Regions from separate parts of the Homo sapiens genome. Here regions 1 and 2 are each linked to region 3. Evidence: promoter capture Hi-C in human tissues and cell types (Jung and others, 2019). All regions are on one chromosome and are shown on one strand. The core of a region is centred on a gene start or on the middle of the fragment in contact, and the rest is flanking DNA. Distances in the headings are between cores, read along the strand shown.

What was found. Contacts are between HindIII fragments. The study calls those that stand out against the background at their distance.
Region 1: a fragment that was not itself captured here is called in contact with the fragment with the promoter of PPP2R5C in region 3 in 1 of the 25 tissues and cell types used here (hippocampus).
Region 2: a fragment that was not itself captured here is called in contact with the fragment with the promoter of PPP2R5C in region 3 in 1 of the 25 tissues and cell types used here (dorsolateral prefrontal cortex).

Annotation. Positions count from the first base shown.
Region 1 is chr14:102,293,130-102,295,829 of GRCh38, forward strand. The region is part of intron 1 of MOK (MOK protein kinase); the gene reads right to left. Among named protein-coding and RNA genes, the nearest start is that of MOK, 11 kb to the right of the region's middle. The HindIII fragment of the contact is 5,250 bases long and covers 1-2,700 here.
Region 2 is chr14:102,351,545-102,354,244 of GRCh38, forward strand. All of the region lies in intron 3 of CINP (cyclin dependent kinase 2 interacting protein), which reads right to left. Among named protein-coding and RNA genes, the nearest start is that of CINP, 10 kb to the right of the region's middle. The HindIII fragment of the contact is 9,147 bases long and covers 1-2,700 here.
Region 3 is chr14:101,760,274-101,762,973 of GRCh38, forward strand. PPP2R5C (protein phosphatase 2 regulatory subunit B'gamma) reads left to right here and starts at 1,436. Exons shown (of 16, transcript NM_001352913.2): 1 at 1,436-1,647; 2 at 2,632-2,697. The coding sequence starts at 1,621. RefSeq lists silencers at 282-391, 462-611, 672-721, 1,182-1,341, 1,352-1,591 and 2 more. The HindIII fragment of the contact is 18,209 bases long and covers 1-2,700 here.

The DNA of each region.
Region 1 (2,700 bases), core at 193-2,692, 530 kb after region 3:
CTCAAAAACAAAAAACAAATGAACAAACAAAAAACTTCATAAACAAAGATGGTATTCACAGTGTCACAAAAGTAAGAATGCCAGAAACTTAAATATCCAGTATCAAGGAAATGTTCTAACAAACTATGAAATAGCCACAGACTGAAATATTATGTAACCATTGATAACGATGCTTTCAAATAATATTTCATGACATGGGAAAATGTTCAGCCATAATTTCATGTTAAGTGAAAAAAAGGATGATAATGATCATACACACAACACATGCACAGAGAAAGACTGAATACAGCTGGGTGCGGTGGCTCACGCCTGTAATCCCAGCACTTTGGGAGGCTGAGGCAGGCGGATCACCTGAGGTCAGGAGTTCGAGACCAGCATGACCAACATGGAGAAACCCTGTCTCTACTAAAAATACAAAATTAGCCAGGTGTGGTGGTGCATGCCTGTAATCCCAGCTACTCGGGAGGCTGAGGCAGGAGAATCACTTGAACCCAGGAGGCGGAGGTTGCGGTGAGCCAAGATCATAGCACCATTGCACTCCAGCCTGGGCAACAAGAGCGAAACTCCATCACAAAAAAAAAAAAAAAAAAAAAAAAAGAAAAGAAAAGAAAAAAAAGAAAAAGACTGAATATAAATATGTAATTTTTTTAATGTATCTGAGTGGGACTGAAGGTGATTTAAATTTTCTTCATTATAATTATCTACATTACTCAATGTTCGCAATGAATACACATTACTTTAAATGTGTGTAAAGGTGAACATTTCAAGAATTTTAAGAAATCAGTGAAAGTGTTGGCTAAGTGCCACGAAAAACATGAACTTAAAATGAACTGTCTTAAAACTACAATATCCTTTTAAAGGAAGACAGTCATAAAGATCACGGGAAGGGGCCAGGTGTGGTGGCTCATGCCTGTAATCCCAGCACTCTGGGAGGCTTAGGCAGGCGGATCACCTGATCCCAGGAGTTTGAGACCAGCCTGGGTAACATGGTGAAATCTTGTCTCTACCAAAAATACAAAAAAATTAGCCAGGTGAGGCCGGGTGCGGTGGCTCATGCCTGTAATCCCAGCACTTTGGGAGGCCAAGGCGGGCGGATCACGAGGTCAGGAGATCAACACCATCCTGGCTAACATGGTGAAACCCCGTCTCTACTAAAAATACAAAAAATTAGCCAGGCGTGGTGGTGGGCACGTGTAGTCCCAGCTACTCGGGAGGCTGAGGCAGGAAAATGGCATGAACCCGGGAGGCGGAGCTGGCAGTGAGCCGAGATAGCGCCACTGCACTCCAGCCAGGGTGATAGAGCGAGACTCCGTCTCAAAAAAAAAAAAAAAAAAAATTAGCCAGGCATCGTGATGCGTGCCTGTAGCCCCGGCCACTTGGGAGGCTGAGATAGGAGAATCCTCTGAGCCCGGGAAGTCAAGGCTGCAGTGAGCCATGATGGTGCCACTGTACTCCAGCCTGAGTGACAGACAGCGAGAGACCTTGTCTCAAAAAGAAAAAAAAAAGAAAATCAAAGGAGGGATTGGAGGTCAATCACTCAAAGTCAAGCTGTGGACTAAGGAATTCAGATTTAAGAGAAGAGGGAATTTACACAATCAATTCCAATTTGTGTTTCATCACAGATAAATTAAGCAGACTTGCTTTAAAAAAAATAGGTCAACTGTGAACTGTAAAGTGGTTTCAGCACACAAATTCAGTGTGTGCCAATGTCCCAGGCTGGCTCGAAACCATCACAACCAGCAATAAATGGAACTTGCCGCACTGGAGGTGTCTGTTGGTAGATAAAGGGGTCACTTGTTTCCCTCATGGCTCTTCTAGTAGGCAGAAAGTATGGGGTATAAAACAAGGATAAGAGGCAGGGATTAAAAAAGAAACCACCTCTATGAAAAAATTCCTGGGAAAAGTTCCTGTTCTCTCCAACAAGATCTGGCGTATTTTCATAGGCCTTCAAAATTAAACAAGAAACACTGAAATGCAGACAAAGCATGATACAAAGCTCTGAAGGGAACAGAGCTATGATACTGTAAATGAACGTCATGCCCCACATTATTGGGAATAGAGTAAACAAGCACCAAAACAAAAAGAAAAACAGACTCAAGGACAAAGGGGTTAAAATAACAGAGCTGGATGAAAAAGGGAGAACAAGGGAGATAAATGAATACCTCTGTATTAAGATTCTATGCACATTTATTAAACCAAGGCTTGTTTGTTGAAGTGGAATTTAAGCCTTATTTAACAAGTGAAAATGAAGGTCAAATTCACTTTTTGTGAAATGCAAAACTTGTCACGTTCAAGTCCAAACATTTTTATTCATGTGCTGTTTATAAAGTTCTTAATCAGGGTGGGTGACAGGCATCAGAGCTATGGGGCTTCACCAGTAGAGGGAGGAAAAGAATTGGGGGAGGTTAATTGCTGACTACAACTAGAGTATGCGAGGAAGAAGATTTCAGCTTCTTACTAATTTCCATTCTCTTCGAGAGATTAAACAGTTCAAACCAAATTACTAAAACAAGGTCAGGAAGCTTCAGTGAAGAGGAGCTGTACACAATTAATTATTTGATATAGTGAGGAAAATTATGACCTGAATTACTAAACATTGTGAAAACAGAAAAGAACACAAAACTATTCAAAAATTCTTAAAATTTTAAAATTGAAATTACACCTATTAACCCAGTAAGTCCACTGTTAATAAACTTGAAG
Region 2 (2,700 bases), core at 131-2,630, 590 kb after region 3:
AGTATAGTTGACTTTACATACATAAATATGAAAAAGGGGAAATAAGAAAAGATATATAAATTGTCAAATATCTTAATTCCTTTACTTGGTCCTTCCAACCACCCTCCAATTACATTGGAAGTGGCAAGCACTAAATTCAGCTAACGTTAATTTTTAAAGGACTTTACTTAAGTAGTTTCCCAAATCTTTTAAGGTTTGATATTTTATTTGGCCCAACCCCAAGAGGCAGGACTTGTCATTTCCGTTTCACAGCTGGGAAATTGCTTAAGGTTGAGCTGAGGAAGGATGAGGCCAGAACTCGATACCATGCCTTCTGACACCAAGTTTTTTTGTTTTTGTTTTTGTTTTTGTTTTTTTTGAGACAGAGTCTCGCTTTGTCACCCAGGCTGGAGTGCAGTGGCGCGATCTCCGCTCACTGCAACCTCCGCCTCCCGGGTTCATGCCATTCTCCTGCCTCAGCCTCCCAAGTAGCTGGGACTACAGGCGCCCGCCACTGTGCCTGGCTAATTTTTTTGGTACTTTTAGCAGAGCTGGGGTTTCACTGTGTTAGCCAGGATGGTCTCGATCTCCTGACCTTGTGATCCGCCCACCTCAGCCTCCCAAAGTGTTGGGATTCCAGGCGTGAGCCACCGCGCCCAGCCGACACCAAGTTTTAACACCCAATCCTCTGCTCTTTCCTGTGAGTCCTGCAGCAGCTCCCTGGTGCCACCTGATTCTAAGAAAAGCTGATAACAGGAGACTAAGGAAAATTCTGGAGCCTTGACCCCAGGCAAGAAGTCATGCTCAATCCTGCAGCTCAGCCATCAATAAAGAATTCAAGTCACATAGGCACGTGCAGCCCTGAATGAACAGTGCATAAACAGCAGGCCCTTACATTTCAACATCGGTGGCTTCTTCCCACAGCAAACACAGACCACAGTGAAATGTTAGCCCAGCTTAGGAAGAACGGTGCATGAAACCCCCAGAAGGTCAAAGTTATGAAAGACACAGACCAGGTCTGGAAACCATTCTCTATAACGGATAGAGGAAAATAGGAAAAATAATAATACCCTATAAAATCAACTTTTGGTTTTGAACATAGAATGAGAACTTATTCCCAAACCACTTTTCTTTTTCTTTTTTTCTTTTTTTTGACACGGAGTCTCACTCTGTGGCCCAGACTGGAGTGCAGTGGCTTGATCTCGGCTAACTGCAACCTCCGAAAGTGATTCTCCCGCCTCAGCCTCCCAAGTAGCTGGGATTGCAGGCACCTGCCACCACCCCCAGCTAATTTTTTGTATTTTTAGTAGAGATGGGGTTTCACTATGTTGGCCATGCTGGTCTCAAACTCTTGACCTCAGGTGATCCACCTGCCTCGGCCTCCTAGAGTGCTGGGATTACAGGCATGAGCCACTGCGCCTGGCCAAAACAAAAATTAAAAAAAAACAAATAAAAATACAACAATTAGCTGGGTGTGGTGGCAGGCACCTGTAATCCCAGCTACTTGGGAAGCTGAGACAGGAGAATCACTTGAACCCAGGAGGCAGAGGTTGCAGTGGGCAGAGATCACCCCACTGCACTCCAGCCTGGGCAACAAGAGTGAAACTCCATCTCAAAAAAAAAAAAAATTAACAAATGGGAGGGAGGGAACAAATCTCCCACGCAGAATAATTCCAAATAATTTATGTAGATACTGCACCCTCAAGCAGGTGGTGAATACGTCCCTACCCCCAGGTGTGGGCTATGCATAGTGACTTCCTGCCAAAGAGCACAGCGTGGGAGGAGGAGAAAGAGCAACGTCACAGCAGAGGAACCTGGAAACACTGCCCAGCCAGGTGATCAAGGTCAACTTCAGCAGTGGAAAGTCCTGGCTGTGCACAGTGGCTCACGCCTGGAATCCCAGCACTTTGGGAGGCTGAGGTGGGAGCACTGCTTGAGCCCAGGAGTTTGAGACCAGCCCGGGCAATAGGTGGGACCCAAAGAAAAGTCCTGATGACAGTATATCCAGTACGTGCCCTTGATATGACATGATAGAAATGGCACTTTACTTCTGTGGTCCTCCTCTGAACAAAACCCGTAACCTCAGTCTAATTAGGAGAAAAACATCAGATAAATCTCATGATGTTCTACAAAATACCTGACCAGTATCCCTCAACATTGTCAAAGTCATCAAAAACAGGGAAGTCTGAGAAACTGTCACGGCCAAAAGGAGCCTGAGGAAACAAGGGGACTCGATGTCATACAGGATCCTGAAGCCAAAACAAGACATGACGGAAAAGCTAAGGCAGGGCGCCAGGGCTCACACCTGTGATCCCAGCACTTTGGGAGGCCAAGGTGGGAAGATCACTTCATGTCAGGAGTTCGAGACCAGCCTGGCCAACATGAGAACCCCGTCTGTACAAACGAATTTTAAAAATTAGCCGGGCATGATGGTTCATGCTTGTAGTCCCAGCTACTCGGGAGGCTGAGGCAAGAAGATCACTTAAGCCCAGGAAGTAAAGGCTGCAGTGAGCTGTGATCATACTACTGCATTCCACAGCGAGACCTTGTCTCCAAACAAACAAAAAGGTGAAAATATAAAGATCTTAAATGTTTATGGGTAAGCTTCAGTTATCCAAGTTCAAATATGTGTAAAACCTGATTTCCTGTGCCTAGCAAAGAAATAAGGTGGTGTTATCTTCACATCTGGTGGCCAGTATGGTAGGTATTGAAATTTAGTTA
Region 3 (2,700 bases), core at 186-2,685:
AAGTTAACGTTTTTCCCTTGGACACCCTCTCCTCACAGCTATTAACAAGCTGAGAGAAATCAGGTGACTCCCAGTCATGCAGAGGTTTCCTCACCATTTATGATCAAGCCAAATTAAAGAATAAAAATAAAATCCTATTGGCGCAGCGGCCACCAAGTCTTTGAGGCCTCGCCTCGGTGGGCGGGGCCGACGCCGGAGGAGAGGGGCTGCGCATGTGGGCGTGACCTCGCGGAAGGAGCTGCGGAGGGCGGGGCCGACTGGAGAGGGGCGGGGCTGTCGGGTGGGTGGGACCTCGCGGCAAAAGCTGCGGAGGGCGGGACCAACCAGGAAAGGACGGGACTGTCGGGTAGGCGGGACCTTGCGGGAGAAACTGCGGAGGGCGGGACCAACCAGGGAGGGGCGGGCTGTCGGATGGGCGGGACCTCGCGGGAGGAGCTGCGGAAAGCTGAGCTGGTGAGGGGAGGGGCTGGTCGAGGGGAGGGGCTGGTCGAGGGGAGGGGCTGGCCGAGGGAAGGGGCCGGCCGAGGGGAGGGGCCGGTCGAGGGGAGGGGCCGGTCAAGGGGAGGGCCCGGCCAAGGGGAGGGGCCGGTCGAGGGGAGGGGCCGGTCGAGGAGAGGGGTTGGTCGAGGGGAAGGGCTGGCCGAGGGGAGGGGCTGGCCGAGGGAAGAGGAGGGGAGGGGACGGGCTGGTCGAGGGGAGGGGAGGGGAGGGCAGGGGACGGGCTGGTCGAGAGAAGGGGAGGGCAGGGGACGGGGTGGTCGAGGGGAGGGGACGGAGGGGAGGGGAGTGGAGGGAGAGGAGGGAAGGGGAGGGGAGGGAAGGGAGGGGAGGCGGGGCCCAGCGGTGTCCCGCGAAACTGCCGCTCGCTCGGTTCCCGGGCCTCCCCGTGCGCCTCAGTGCAAAGCGTGCCAGGCACTCTTGACTGCAACGAGAGCCGCGGCGGTGAGGGGGCAAGGCCAAGAGGCCACGGTTCGCGTTTCGCCGGCTGCAGAAGTTGTTGCCATACATTTCAAATGTGCATTTCCTACGTCTCACGCTCTGTCTTGCGCCTCCACAGCGGGCCACGGCCCTGTCACCGCAGTCGCAGCCACATGCTCCCTCCCCTGAGTCGGCTCAGCTCTGCTCAGCGGTCAGCCCCGCGCCAGGAGGCCGCGGCCTGCCTGAGGCCGGCTCGCAGCGACTCGGGACGGAGGGCGGGGGCGTGAACGGGTCGCGCGGAGAGGGTGGGGGGAGCGGGGAGCGTTAGGGTACGTGGGGGCGCGTCGACCAATGGCAGGGCGCTGTTGAGTGCAGCGGGGCGGGGCCGGGCGCGGGGGTGGGGCGAGCGGCGGGCGGGGCGGGGCGGCCGGCCGGGGGGTGGGAGGAGAGGGGCGGGGCGGGCCGGCCGGGGGAGGGGCGGAGAGACGCCGCCGCTGCCGCCGCCGCCGCCGCCGCCGCCGCCGTGGCTGCCGCAGCCTCTGGGAGTCTGGAAAAGGGGAAGCGAGAGCAAGCGAAAGACTCAGTCCCCGGGCGGCGGCGGCGGCGGCGGCCGCGGGGGCGCGACGGCCGGGGCGGGGGCGCTGCTGCTGCGGGGGCAGGCGGCGGCAGGGGCGGCGGCGGCGGCGGCGGCCCGCTCCAGCCATGCCGAATAAAAACAAGAAGGAGAAAGTGAGTCCGGGCCCGGCCGCGGGACGGAGGGAGCAGGGAGGGACTGCCGGGGGAGGGCGCGACGGCACCGGGGTCCTGCGCCCGGGCCCCGGCTCAGTTCCCCGCCTGACGCCGCGGGCTTCGCGTCCCCGAGGGCGGCCGAGCCAGGCATCCCCGGGCTTCTCTCGGCCTCATGCCCGGTGGGGGCGGGGAGCCCGGGGATCGCGCCGGAGCCGCGGGGCGCAGGCCCGGGCCGCTGGGACCTTCGTGATGGGCCGGGGCTGGGCGTGGAGGGAGGGCGCGGCCCGGGGAGGGGGTCGGAGGGGCGCCCGTTTCCGACAGCGCGCCGTGGGCTTGGGCGGGCAGGTGCGGCCGCCGAGGGGGTTCGCAGCCTCGCAGGCTCCCGGAAAGGAGCTTCAGGGATGGGGGCTGTAGACGCCTGGGGAGGGACCCCTGTACGGGGGAAAGGGAGCGAGAAGGGACCCCGCTGAGAGCTGGTAAGGAATTCTCTGCCGCCCCGGAGGGACGCTCTGGGGCTCTCGAACACTATTATTATCCTGGGTGGCGGCGGCGGTGAGGGCTGCGAGCAAGGGTGCTGCGTTTGCATTCGGGGGGGCGGGTATGTTTCTGCTTCAGGTGGAGCTCTGTAGCGTTTCATTATCACCCCAGAAATCCTCACTCATAGGGTTTAGGGTGGGAGGGTAGAAAGGGATGTGATGTGGATCTCAAAATGCCAGAAGCACTGTATAAAATTGGATTTATCTGTTTTCTGCTTGAAGTTTTCAACCTCAAATGCAGATAAAACGAAAAGAATCTGAATGGGGGTTGGGGGGCATTGCACTGTTGGAATCCTAAACGGTATGATATAGAATTTCCTAATGGTATGAATTAAAAATATCAGAAGCTGTAGTTGTATAAATCACTTTTAAAACTGCATTTGGCTTATCTGATGTTTACCTGTCTAAAAAGTGAGAAGACTAATTGACTTTGCTTGATGTTTACCAGGAATCACCAAAAGCAGGGAAGAGTGGAAAAAGTTCAAAAGAAGGACAAGACACAGTAGAATCAGAGGTA